Regions from separate parts of the Homo sapiens genome. Here region 1 is linked to region 2. The links are contacts of gene promoters, found by promoter capture Hi-C in human tissues and cell types (Jung and others, 2019). All regions are on one chromosome and are shown on one strand. Each heading gives the region's core, a stretch centred on a gene start or on the middle of the fragment in contact. The rest is flanking DNA. Distances are from core to core; before and after follow the strand shown. Region 1 overlaps PHLPP1 (PH domain and leucine rich repeat protein phosphatase 1). Region 2 holds the start of PIGN (phosphatidylinositol glycan anchor biosynthesis class N).

Evidence for each region. Contacts are between HindIII fragments. The study calls those that stand out against the background at their distance.
Region 1: a fragment that was not itself captured here is called in contact with the fragment with the promoter of PIGN in region 2 in 1 of the 25 tissues and cell types used here (dorsolateral prefrontal cortex).

What each region holds. Positions count from the first base shown.
Region 1 is chr18:62,938,330-62,945,132 of GRCh38, forward strand. PHLPP1 (PH domain and leucine rich repeat protein phosphatase 1) reads left to right here. Exons shown (of 17, transcript NM_194449.4): 11 at 3,389-3,589; 12 at 6,780-6,803. Among named protein-coding and RNA genes, the nearest start is that of PHLPP1, 230 kb to the left of the region's middle. RefSeq lists an enhancer at 3,658-4,857. The HindIII fragment of the contact is 4,162 bases long and covers 1,613-5,774 here.
Region 2 is chr18:62,181,487-62,188,525 of GRCh38, forward strand. PIGN (phosphatidylinositol glycan anchor biosynthesis class N) reads right to left here and starts at 5,570. Exons shown (of 31, transcript NM_176787.5): 1 at 5,358-5,570. It overlaps RELCH (RAB11 binding and LisH domain, coiled-coil and HEAT repeat containing), which reads left to right and starts at 5,769. Exons shown (of 29, transcript NM_001346231.2): 1 at 5,769-6,545. The coding sequence starts at 6,020. RefSeq lists silencers at 5,072-5,284, 6,235-6,454 and an enhancer at 5,875-6,084. The HindIII fragment of the contact is 6,487 bases long and covers 3,184-7,039 here.

The DNA of each region.
Region 1 (6,803 bases), core at 2,444-4,943, 750 kb after region 2:
GAGCCTATTTATTTACTAAAATTGTTAACCATCCTGGAGAAACTTTGCAAAACTAAAGTATTTGTTCGTTCTGGTGGAAGGATGAAATGTAGACTATTAAACCAATTTAAATTGTCTCCTGCTGAAACATTGTGAGGTTTTAGGAAGAATGGCTTAAGTGAATGGGTATTGAATTTAATTTTCCTGATACTATGATAATAAAAAATATTTTTAGTCCAATTGTTTGCTCTTTGACTATTAACCAGCAAGGTGATTAAGTCAGACTTTATGCAGTTCAGATGATGTCCTTTGGAACCACTTCATGTGGTTTCAACTAACTAGTTTCATTTCTTGGAGGTGGATGATGCTGGCAGTTTCCCCCTTAATTTTGCATAAAAGGTATATAGTTCCTTAATTACAGACAACTTTCAAAAAGATGAGAGGATAAATCTTTGAGGAAATCACTTTCTTCCCTTTATTCAGATGCCATGAGGGGTTTTTTAAGTTGCTTGGCAGCTTTCTAGATGAGCATTCACTTGTCTGTTTTTAAAACATTCCCTCTTTTTCTGGCCTAAAAAATATGCAAACATGAATTCACTTTGTTTTATCGCATGTGTTTGTGTGTGTATAACTACATATTTCCTAGAGAATTCTATTTTTGTCTTTTTTCTTTCTTTCTTTCTTTCTTTTTTTTTTTTTGAGCCGGAGTTTCGCTCTTGTTGCCCAGGTTAGAGCACAATGGTGCAGTCTTGGCTCATTGCAACCTCTGCCTCCCGGGTTCAAGTGATTCTGCTGCCTCACCCTCTCGAGTAGCTGGGATTACAGGTGCCTGCCACCACACCCAGCTAATATTTGTATTTTTAGTAGAGGAGGGGGGTTTCACCATGTTGGCCAGGCTGGTCTCGAACTCCTGACCTCAGGTGATCCACCCGCCTCAGCCACCCAAAGTGCTGGGATTACAGGTGTGAGCCACTGCGCCCAGCTGAGAATTCTATTTTAATGAAATTATTTTATATAGTTTCCCAGCCAACACTAGTCCATGATATTTTAGGGCAATAAAATTTATTTCTTACATTGTAATTTATTCTAATGCTACACTAAAGAAATTCTTAACAGGAAATAAGGTGGTCTAAATGGGATCTAAAGAAACAGACTCATAAAAATACTCTAAACAGCGATGGTAAACAACTATGTTGCTGAAACTTGTTTCCTTCCTACTTCAAAACCATTTCAGAAACTGCAGGAGTGACCTTTATTTCCTTCTCTGTAGCACACACGACTATAATTTCCCGTGACTATTTATGGTCTGGATAGCCGTTCTCTAACTTCCTTTTTTTTTTTTTTAATGTCAACGGAATACGTGTTTCTTTAATGGAAAATGTTCTATTTTGGGGAAGCTGCTTTTCCTCAGATAAGTAATGGAGTTGGTGCTTGTGTGTTGAAGGGGTTGTACAAGATTGAAGAGTTTTAAATTAGTGGACTGAGAGCTTGAAGTGACAGTCCTGGTGAGGACTCCTAGTAGCCTTTTTTTTTCTCTCCAAGATTAAAAATAACTGCCTGGTATTCTGTATTCTTTTTAAGGATGATTTTATTCTTTTTTTTTTTAACAGATGGCAGAATAGTCCTGAATTGAATGGTGAAAGTTTCAAACCAAAGTGATTGAAATGAGGGAATAGTGTGGTTCATCAACAGGGTTGATCTGGGGGCCAGGGGGAGGCATGGGAGATTTCACCCTTCTAACTCTTGTAGGCAAGTGCTATGTACTGAGCACTGTCTCTTTCCCACCTGCTGCAGCTGCACAGTTGGACATTCGTCATGAATCAGGAGGGTCATCTCTGACTCTTGAGGGTGACACAGTCCGTCCCTTTGGAGTGATTTGGAACCTGATCACAGCAAGGATTTGTTGCCATTCCCCAGCTTTGCAATGTGCATTTAACTACATTTCACAATCACCGTGGAGGATTTTTTTTTTTTTGGGCAATTTTACTTATCTTAGTTATAAAACCATTCTTTATATTTTATCCACGTTTCTTTTTCTTTCTTTTCTTTTTTTTTTTTTTTTTTTTTTTTTTTTGAGATGGAATCTCGCTCTGTCGCCCAGGCTGGAGTACAGTGGTGCGATCTCCGCTCACTGCAAGCTCTGCCTCCTGGGTTCACGCCATTCTCCTGCCTCAGCCTCCCGAGTAGCTGGGACTGCAGGCGCCCGCCACCACACCCGGCTAATTTTTTGTATGTTTAGTAGAAACAGGGTTTCACCATGTTAGCCAGGATGGTCTCGATCTCCTGACCTTGTGATCCGCCTGCCTCGGCCTCCCAAAGTGCTGGGATTACAGGCGTGAGCCACCACGCCTGGCCTTTATCCTCTTTTCACTCTAGCATCTGAAAAGTGTGGCAGCAATATATTATCTTGTTTGTTTGTTTTAATGTAAAATTTATTTAAGTACAATATAAATACAGAAAAGAGGCCAGATCATAAGTGTAGCCCTTGATGCTTCGTCTCAAAGTGAGCACACTTGTGTAACCAGCACCTGGACTAAGAAACAGAACATTACAATATTTGAAACGTTACACGCCGTCTCCTGGATACTGCCTCCTTTCCCTCCCCACCTAAGAGTTACTGCCATCCTGACTTCTGTTACTACAGAGTAATTTTGCCTGACTTTGAACTTTATATAGTTATGGGATCATGCAGTGGGTCTCCTCTTGTATCTGGCTTCTTCTGGTCATTATGTGTTTGTGAGATTCATCCTGTTGATACATGTTGTTTTAGTTCTTTATTCTCATTGCTACATCATATTATGTTGTTTTAATAGAGAGCAAATTATCTCCTGCACTTGTGAAAGCCAGTAAAATGTGCTTTGGACTTTATACTGAAGAGGACTCAAGTCACTATGTGATTTAGTTGCATTGTGATCTAATACCTGTTTTATTACTATAAGAACCATTTATTTATTATTTATTTATTCACCTAATTTTTATAGAGGCAGGATCTTGCTTTGTTGCCCAGGCTGGTCTCAAACTCCTGGCATCCTCCTGCTTTAGCAAAAACTTTTGATTACAAAATAGGAAACTGTTTTTCTCTTCCTTAAGTCAGAATATTAACTTTACCATATCACTTTCTCTTCCACTCCCCGCCAACTATAAAAATAATTGCTTCCCCTTACCTTTGTGCTTCCATAAAAATTGGTTGTATCTCTGTGTTTAATACATATAGATAGCTATTGTGGTCATGATAGTTAGTGAATCACAGATACAAATACTTGCTAATTGAACTCCTTGAAGCCAGGGCTTGTCTTTTCAATTCATGTTTCTGATCCCAGCTTCTAATATGCCTGGTATCAAAGCTTTTAGGTTTCTTGAGGGTTTTTGTGACTTTTCAATGGCATTTTGTTGCGTTTTGTCATTGTAGCCTGAGATTCCTGAACGCCTCTGCGAACAAACTGGAAAGCCTTCCTCCAGCCACGCTTTCCGAAGAGACAAACAGTATCTTACAAGAGTTGTATTTGACAAATAACAGCCTCACAGACAAATGTGTGCCCTTGTTAACGGGACACCCCCATTTGAAGATCCTTCACATGGCCTATAACCGACTTCAGAGTTTTCCAGCAAGGTAAAGGACAGTTGTAAAGCTGCGTTCTGAATTGCATTTCTCAAAGTGTATTCATAGAAAGGTGAAGGCTGAAATATTTATTTCCCAGGTGATGTCAAGTTTGTTTGCTTGTTCCTGCTCCCTTCACAGTTTCCTTTATGTAAGCTATGATGACATTTCCCTAAAGAGAAGTAGATTGGTTTTCTTCATATGTGTCCAAAGACCTAATCACAAGAATGTTCTTAAGATTTTGAAATAAAATGTGTTGTTTAGCAGGTATGTTTTTTCTTTTACTTCTTTTTAACCAGTCAGATTAATTTTTTAAAAAACCATTATCCTAGAGCCAGGTGTGGCAGTGCGTGCCTGTAGTCCCAGCTACTCGGGAGGCTGACATGGGAGGGTCACTTGAGCTGAAGAATTCGAGACCAGCCTGGGCAACATAGTGAGACCCTATCTATTAAAAAATAAAGTAAATAATAAAGTTTCCAAAAACATTAACCTAATAGGGTATGTGGGAATTAGAATGTAAACCAGGAACCTGAAAATCCTTCATTATCTACCAAACTTTATATTCATATTCATGATGTACAGAGCAGTGGTAGACTCTACTACCATAGAAACTGTAACATTGCAAATTCTGGCTCTCAAAATAGTCCATTTTTAATTTGTTTTTACTTTAATTTCTAATTTTCGGTGAGCGGTGACATTATATCTAGCTTTGAGTGAATCTGCGTGCTGAGCCTGCCGTGAGGATTTACCGTGTTTCCATTTCATTGGCTTTTATCCATCTAACAAGTTAGGGCTTGAACACACACCCACGCATCAAAGAAACAAACACTAACCCTTCTGGTTTCTGCTTGGTAACTGCAACTCAGCATTGGGGCCAAATCAAAACACTATCATAGCTTCCCTCTGCTGCCTTCAGGGCTACCAGTCTGTTCGAGCCCTTGCTGAAGAAGGAAGGCCCGTGTATATGTTGACTTAAAGTATTGCTCTGTTTTTGGTGTAATGAAATATTTACTTTCCTCCTCATTTGATATTAATAATTAAACTATTTTATGCTTACTTCCATCTACTTTTACTTCACTATGGAATGGGGAAATGATATTTTTGGAAAAAACCATGATAATCACATAACAGCAACCTATCTGAAAGAGCTCATTGTCTTCTTTCAGATGATGAATGTCTAAACCCTGCAGAGGAAAGGATCATCAGCTCTAATTCTGAGGATATACCCCCAGTGACCCGTGCCAGGTGTAATCACCCACCCTAAGTGCAGAGAAACTTTTAACACACCTTGTAAAAAAATCCATCTAGGAATGAATTCTGTCTCCCTGTGGTTGTGATGTGGCTCAGTAGCTCCCCTGCAAACCAGAGCACCTTAAGAGCTGGGTCTGTGACCTTGCTGTATCCCTCAGCCTCATATCTCACACAAGGCCCACACTTAAATGGTTGCTGAATTAAAGAACGGGACCACCATCTAGTCATTTTGTCTTCACATCTTTTGCCACCTTCTTTTTATGTGGCGAGTTGGAAATTTCTTTAACTTTTTCTTTTGGGGGCCTGTTTTCTGTGCTTTTAATCATTTTTCATGCACCATTACCCATTAGTTTCAAGGCACACAAGGGCTGGCATCTGCTTCTGGTGAGTCTTCAGGAAGCTTACAATCATGGCAGAAGGTGAAGGGGAGCCATTGTGTCACATGGTGAGAGAGGGGGCAAAAGAGATGCCAGGGTCTTGCGTGAATGCACAGCGTGTGAATTCTCTGATTACCATGGGAAGGGCATCAAGCCATTCATGTGGTATCTGCCCCCATGACCAAAACACCTCCCACCGGGCCCCACCTCTGACACTGGGAATCACGTTTCAACATGAGATTTGGAGGGGACAAATAATCCAAACCGTATCACTATATTTTTTTCAAAATATGATGATAACATATTTAAATAATATTCTCAGAAATTCGGGCTATCATAGATGGATTACTTCATAGTCTGTGTACATATTGTTTGTAGTCTATTCTGATACCACACTGGATGTATATGATATTAAAAGGTCTGACTTCATAAGATAAAAACTTAGTTTTTACTGTATCTTAGGCATATATTTATTTTCAAGATAAACAAGATAATCTTTATATTTGAAAGATGACAAAAATAATACAGTGGTTTTTTTTTGTTAAATTCTTTAAAAGTGTATTGTGACAAATGAAACTATAACAGGTAGAAACAATACCAAAAAATGTAAACTATTATTCAGCTTATGAGTCTGGATCACACTAATGGGGAATCCTGTGCTTCTTGGAGTCTAACATCAGCAGGAGTGGAAAAAGGGTCAAAAAAGTGCCAGATACTATTACAGTGATTGCAGAGGTAGAGGCATTGTTTTTTCTTTCAAATTTATAAAGAATGCAAGAAACCCTGATTCTGGAATTTTTCTTTAGTTGGTTATTGTAATTATTGATGAAGATTATAGATGAGGAGGATTGAACAATAAAAGACATTCTTAAACAGAAGTATTAAATTAATTACATTAGAACATATTATTAAGATAAGGTTGGAGAGATTCCTTCTTGGTAGATGTTTAGCAACAATTGAGATAAATGTCTTTTGGCCCTGGTGTGAATTTGGGCTCTGCCAGAAGTCCAAGAGGTGATCCAAATGGGCTTTTAACACACCCCTTGCTCCTTACCACCACTTTGTATTCATCAGTGATGTCAGAGGAGTTGGGGGAGTGAGGGTTGAAGAAAAAGCTTATCTTAATATGAACTATAGACCTGTTCTCTACCTCCCCCTTGAGTTTTCAGTGCCACTACAAAGAAATCATACTCTCTGAGCTCTTTTAAGGCAGTTTTATTGTATTAGTGCTGGCTTTTGACCCATTTAAATAGTGTTTTCATTAGTGTTCAGACCAAGCTATACAGTAACATGATTATTGCCAGGGTAACTTAATTTCCACATAGACTTTTAGGAGGAAAAGGGCATCCATTTTCCTTCTTGTTGACAATTTGAAGAGTTGAATAGTTTTTGTTCTGTAGTGAGAAAGGAGGTGTTAAAATATTTCAGTACTCCAAAATGATAGTGAAAAAATGGTCTTGTTTGTAAAAATGACTGTTACAAATGAATCCTTAAAGTCATAGCAATTTAATTCATCCTTTGATTCTCGTCCTATATTATTTTCTTTTAAATTGCTTTATTTTCTCTTTTTTTAGTAAAATGGCGAAACTGGAGGAACT
Region 2 (7,039 bases), core at 4,320-6,819:
AAGCAACCTAAGCTTCCTGGGCTAAGTCATCCTCCCACCTCAGCTTCCCAAGTAGCGGGGACCACAGGTGCATGTTTACCACATTCAGCTAATTTTTGTATTTTTTGTAGAGCGGGGGTCTTGCCATGTTGCCCAGGCTGGTCTTGAACTCCTGGGCTCAAGTCATCTACTCACCTCGGCCTCCTAAAGTGCTGGGATTACAGGTGTGAGTTGCTGGGCCCAGTCGCCTTCTCCTTTTTATTTTTATTTCTTTTTAGACAGAGTCTCGCCCTATCTATCGCCCAGGCTGGAGTGCAGTGGCGCGATCTCGGCTCACTGCAACCTCCACCTCCCGGGTTCAAGCAATTCTCCTGCCTCAGCCTCCCAAGTAGCTGGGATTACAGGCACACAGCATCATGCCCAGGTAATTTTGTATTTTTAGTAGAGACAGGGTTTCACCATGTTGGCCAGGCTGGTCTCAAACTCCTGACCTCAGGTGATCCACCTACCTCATCCTCCCAAAGTGGTGGGATTACAGGCATGAGCCACCATGCCCGGCTGCCTTCTCCTTTTTAATAGGCTGTTATCACTTGGCTTCTATGAACATTACTGCTTTCATTTTTCACCTACACCTCTGACCAATGTTGAACAGTCTCTATCTGATCACTAAATTTTGGAGTTACTCAAAACTTGGTCCTCAGCTGTCTTTTCTTCTCACTCTATACTTTCTATCCTGGCAAGTTTCATCATATCTGTGGCTTCAGTTATTACCTAATATGCAAAAGCCTCAACAAATTATAGCTCCAAATCCACATATGTAACTCGAACCTTTATAAATCTACATGGACGTTTCAAAGACACTCAACTAAGTAGGTTTAAAACCAAATTCATAACATTTCCCATGAGCCTTGTCTACTACCTACTAAATCCTTAGTGTTCACAATCTCAGTAGGTGGCACCACCTTCCCACCAAGTATGTAAGTCTGAGAAATAGGCATTGTTCTTTACACCCTATTCTTCCCCTTTATTTAATCTAACAATTGTCCACTTTGTGTTTCTTGAATCTGTTCATTTGTCTTAATCTCCATTGACACCTCTATAATTTAAGATGTATACCATCTCTTATGCGAACTACTGCAATGCAGGAATAGGTCACCCCTATATACTCTAACCCTTCTCTGATCCATTTCTTGCCATGTAGCCAGAGTATTACTTGCTTTTCTTTTTTCAAAAGAAAATCTGAACATCTTACCCCTTGTATAAAACTCTCCAGTGCCTTCTGTGAAGCATTCACTGTCTTTAAAGTCAAAAGACACGTTTGCAACAACACGGATGTTCCTGAAGCCTGGTATGCTAAGTGAAATAAGCCAGGTGCAGAAACACAAATACTGCATGATTTCACTCCTATGTGGAACTTAAGAAAGTTGACCCCACTGAATTAGAAGCAGAATGGTGGTAACCAGAGGCTGGGGTAGTTCCACAGCGGGGGGCAATTGTAGAGATACTGATCAAAGCATTCATATTAGAGTTAGATAGAAGGAATAAGTTCAAGAGCTCTGTTGTACAGCATGGTGACTCTAGTTAATGATGATATATTGTATTCTTGAAAACTGCTAAAAGGGTAGATGTTCAAATTTCTCATCACAAAAATGATAACTATGTGTAAGGTAATGCATTTGTTACTTAGCTAGATTTGAGCATTTCACAATGTATATAAACTGAAGAACATCATGTACACAATGAATACATAAAATCGTATATTAAAAAATAAATTTAAAAATGAAGTCACAGCTGGAAAAAAAAAACTCTCCAGTGCCTTTTCACCTACTAATCTAGACTAAAATCCTTAATGTGACTAACAAGGTCTTTTATAGACTAGCCTCTGCCTTCTTTTCTAAACCTGTCTCATAGCACTCCCCTTTACTTTGTAACATCTCACATCACTGGCCCCTTCTTTTATTCAAGTATCCCACTGCTATAAGACCTTTGTAGGCTCAATTCCTCTCTGCAGAATGTACTTGCAACCTATCTTCCACTCTCTCCTAACATTCCATTTCAAGCATCACTTCCTCAGGGACTATGCAGGTGAAGTCAGAAACGAAAACTTTTACTTCAGTTTGTAATTACATAGCTTTGTCTACGACTATTTGAATTAATGTCTGTCTCTGTCACTTCACCACAATTCCATGACAGCAGGACGGGGCATCTCCAACACCCATCAGAGTCTTATGCACTTAGTAAGGACTCAAATGTTTGCTGAATAAATTATTTAGAATTATCATTTCAAGGGTAAATGCAATATGCACTACAGCCACTAGAGGATGCCCTGCTTCTGTTTTTGTTCCTCCAGAACAAGATGTGAAGACTGAAAATACTTTAAAAAAAAAAAAACTAAACCTTTTATGATAAAGTAATTTACTATTAATGTAAATAAAATTGCAGTTATTACAAAATATCAGCATTCACTAACTACTTATTTTAATTAGTTTAATTGCTTAATACTAAATATTACTTAATACTTCTCTTTAAAGAAAATCACAATTTATTCAGATTTATTGAAAAAGAAATACCTCCAAAACAAACACATAACTATTAAAATTTTAAAAAGATATATGCATGTACCAATACAAGTTATCTAGTTTATCTGTGGATGTTTACCACACACTGAAAAACAATAAAACATGAGGTATTACTAAAACCTCAAGTCAACCAAAACTTGCATTCAGAATATTACTTGTGGTTCTTTTAAGACTATTAAAACCTAAAATAATTTTTTAAATACTAAAATGATTGACGTGCTTTGAAAAAAGGCATCTTTTACATCTTCATTGCTAAGGCACAAGCTTTAATAACTATCATTAGTCAGATGAAACATTAGTTGTAAGGGCCTAGATTAATGAAAATCTTACTAAGTAGAAAGGAAATTTCCCAACACTATTAATAATACATTATTATAAGTAGTGATCGGTAATTTTTAATATTCCAGTGTGTGTTACTTATACATTATTCACGAATAACCAAACCTCTGTGTATTGTGGAAAAGAAAAGTACATACTGGGAAGACTGGGCAGTTGATTTCTAATGGGCTTACAAGATCAAACACACAAGTTCATGGTTATAGGATAGGAGGCAGAAATAGAAGCAGAAAACCACAGATTTGTATGGGAAGAATTCCTCTACATGCAAGTTCTTACAACTCTGAGGAAACATTTTAAATCTATTTTCAACTTGTGTTTTAGAACTGAGACCCCAAATTAAAGATACTCCCTTCAGCCCTACTGACTTAATTGCTTTTTCAGGCTTGCACTGCCAAAACGATTGATATTAGTTTTATTTTTAAACACTTGTCAAATGTTCTCAACACATACTAATATTTCAATAATTAATAAGTGACCACAGTAATAGTTATTGTGTAGCAGGTACCAGGCACTGGGACAAGAACATTCTCAATTCTGTGTACTTTCCTTATCCCCTTTGATAGACGAATGCAAGTGAGGCTGAGAAGTTAGGTAACTTTTTCAAGGTCTCACAATAAATAATGAGTAGAATTGGGATCTGAACTTAAGCTTTTCTATCTTATAAGCATAATCCTCTTCAGGAATCCTAAATGCAGGAGATTTCTCAATTTCCCAATCATGGAGATGGAAATATTGTATATAAACAATCCATTTCTAATCATGCCCTTCCCATGCCATTCACTAATCCTCCATTCCTGGATTCCAGAAATTGGTTCCATTTTAATCTCTCTGGAAAATCCAACTAAAATACGGATCAGCAATCCCTTTTGCTAAGAAATCTCTAACAGGATACAGTATTTGCCATTTCAATTCTATTTGGGGGGATTTTTTTCCCCATGTTTTACTTTTAATATATGGCACAGAAAACTATTTATCATTAAAACATTGGGAACTAATGTCCTATAAAAAAATAGTTTAAATTCTTGGTACTTTTTTTTTAAACTTCTAGCAAAAATAAAATTTTAAAAACCCAAATCCCCATTCAAATGAAAATTTTAGTTTATTGAGCCTGGGTATATTGAAATTAAAGCCTACTCTTAACTGTTGGCATACTTTTACATGTAAACCAATAACCTGACCTAAGGTTATGTAAGAATCGTCTATTTTAATTTTTCCATGGAGCTAACGGGAGATACTTTACTGTGGAATGTTTACTACACACTGAATGTAATATGTCACTTACCTGTACACTAAGAAAGGAAATCTAAAGCCTGGAAAAGTGGTCATTTGTGTGTGAAAAAAATAGGAGCCATAAGAAATAGCAGTCTAATTGTATTGACTGGAAATTCCTTTACCTTTTCAGATCATAATCAAGGAATGACATAAAAGATAAACGTTGATCTTCTAAACTTAGGATATGTACTTTATATGCTAACATTTCATCAAAAAAATCAAAACTCTCTGAAGCATTCAACTTTTAAAATAGTTCTAAGTTCCAAAACCTTGATTCTAGCCTGCATGAACGAGTCAGAAATGTTGCAGGAGACAGTGGATAAAGAATCGTTTGGGACATAAGAGAAATGATGTTAATTCCTTTGACTCCTTATTAGCGGAATTGATTTTTTTTTTTTTTTTTTTTTTTTTTTGAGACGGAGTCTCGTTCTGTCGCCCAGGCTGGAGTGCAGTGGCGCGACCTCGGCTCACTGCAATCTTCGCCTCCGGGGTTCAAGCGATTCTCCTGCCTCAGCCTCCTGAGTAGCTGGGATTGCAGGCTTGCGCCACCACGCCCAACTAATTTTTGTGTTTTTAGTAGAGAAGGGGTTTCACCATGTTGGTCAGGCTGGTCTCGAACTCCCGACCTCGTGATCCGCCCGGCTCGGCCTCCCAAAGTGCTGGGATTACAGGCGTGAGCCACCGCGCCCGGCGTGGAGCTGATTTTATAACAACCACTCTTGGCTTAAGTTTACTTATCTGTCTACTGGTGAGACAGCATTAGATATTCTGAAGGGTCCCTGTTGTGTAAATCGTGTATTAAATCCTAAGCGTTTATTGAGTACCTAACAATTTGTTTTCCAACTCGACGATGTTCCCAGATCCAGGCAAATGCCAACCTCAGCGTTCCCTTTTCCGTTTAGTCTCTCCAGCCCCCGTCCCCACCCACAGGCAGGACCACCTCCGGGGCTGAGAAGTCGTGCTGTCGCTAGGCCTCCCGAGTGTGCAAGCATGTGGCAGAGAAGGGAAAAGAAAGGAAGTCACATTCCGACTACAGGCCTGGGCACTTGCTATCCATGGGGACAAAATGTCACCACTGGCAGCAAATAGCGAGAAAAAGTGCAGCGCAGTAGGGAAACAGCGCGTCCGCGGGCGCGACACCACAGTTTGGGCGCCGACACCCTCCGCGCACTGGTCCCTGAACTTTACCTGGAGCTTATCCCGGTCAGGCCTGATCTCGAAAACGAGGGCTCCTCAGCGCGAAGGCAGGACCCAGCTCCATTAAAGCTCTCGGGCAGTGGTCCCCTCTACCCACTGAAGCGATAGCCGGGAGGGTATTCCTAAGCCACCACTACAACCACCCCTCAATTCCGGAACGCCCCCAATACCTGCCCGGCCGCTGCTGCTATCGCGATAATTCTCGGGCCAGTCTCCCGTCAGTCCGCTCCACGCCTTCCTTCTCTGACCAATCATGGAGGAGTCGTGGGTGGAGTTTTGCTTTTGAGCGGAGAGCGGGGCCTTCAATCTTTGCTATCTGGCGCTGGGAATGGGCGGAGCTGAAGTGGGCTGGGGCGGGGCTGGGGCGGGGCTAGATCGGGGAGAGGGGCAGGGGCACGCTCCAGTTCTCGCGAGACTGGAGACCAGGAAGACGCCTGCAGAGCCGGGCTGCTGGTGCAGCAGAGGCTGAGGCATCAGGTGCAGCTGCATCCGGATCTCCTGCCTTGGAGCGTACTCCTTGTCTCTAAGTCGGGAGGCAGGACGTGGTCAGGCCGGGGCTGTGGAGGTGCGCTGTGTCCCCTGAGGCCTAGAGGATTCGGGCTGCGGCCCGTCGGAACCAGTCAGGGAGGCGCCCACACTCCTGACAGGATAAGATGGCGGCGATGGCGCCTGGAGGTAGTGGCAGTGGTGGCGGCGTGAATCCATTTCTCAGTGATTCGGATGAGGACGATGACGAGGTAGCTGCAACAGAGGAACGGCGGGCAGTACTTCGGCTGGGCGCCGGAAGTGGCCTAGATCCTGGCTCTGCGGGCTCGCTGTCGCCACAGGATCCCGTGGCCTTAGGAAGCAGTGCGCGGCCAGGGCTCCCTGGGGAGGCGTCGGCGGCTGCAGTGGCCCTGGGGGGCACCGGGGAGACCCCGGCCCGATTATCAATTGATGCGATCGCTGCTCAGCTGTTGCGCGATCAATACTTGCTGACCGCCCTGGAGCTGCATACCGAGCTGTTAGAGAGTGGCCGGGAGCTGCCTCGGCTGCGCGACTACTTCTCCAATCCAGGCAACTTCGAGAGGCAAAGTGGAACCCCGCCGGGGATGGGGGCGCCAGGGGTCCCTGGAGCAGCCGGCGTTGGGGGCGCTGGAGGTCGGGAACCGAGTACAGCGTCGGGCGGGGGACAGCTCAGTAAGTGGACGCAGCCTGTCACACTCCGGCAGGGTATTTGGGATTGTACGGAGTTACTGTAGGGGAGAGGGGGTATTTCTGCGTGGGTCCCGATAGGGACATTTTAAGGAACGAGAGTATTGGGGTGGGGGCGCTCTTTTGCGGTGGAAGCAAGAGGATCAGGCAATGACTGTTCTCTCTGCCTGCTTCCAACCCTTGGCTGGTGTTGCACTTGGCTCCTGGCTCCCCTACTGGTGTCAGTATCTATAAAATATCAAGAGTTTCTAGTTCACTGGCTATTACGGGACTCCAGAAGGTTCCCTTTTATACTAGTTTATTGCTTTAAGCATTTTCCTTTTTCTCCAGTTACCTGAATCACACTACCAGGAAATAGTGTTACCTGAATTGCCTGCAGTAGTTCTTTGAGTCTGAGCCAGGAGAGAAAGAATAGGACACACTGCTGCTGTCTCCGAAAAGTCAGATGTACTTAAGACCCTTTGTCTTTGGGACGACTT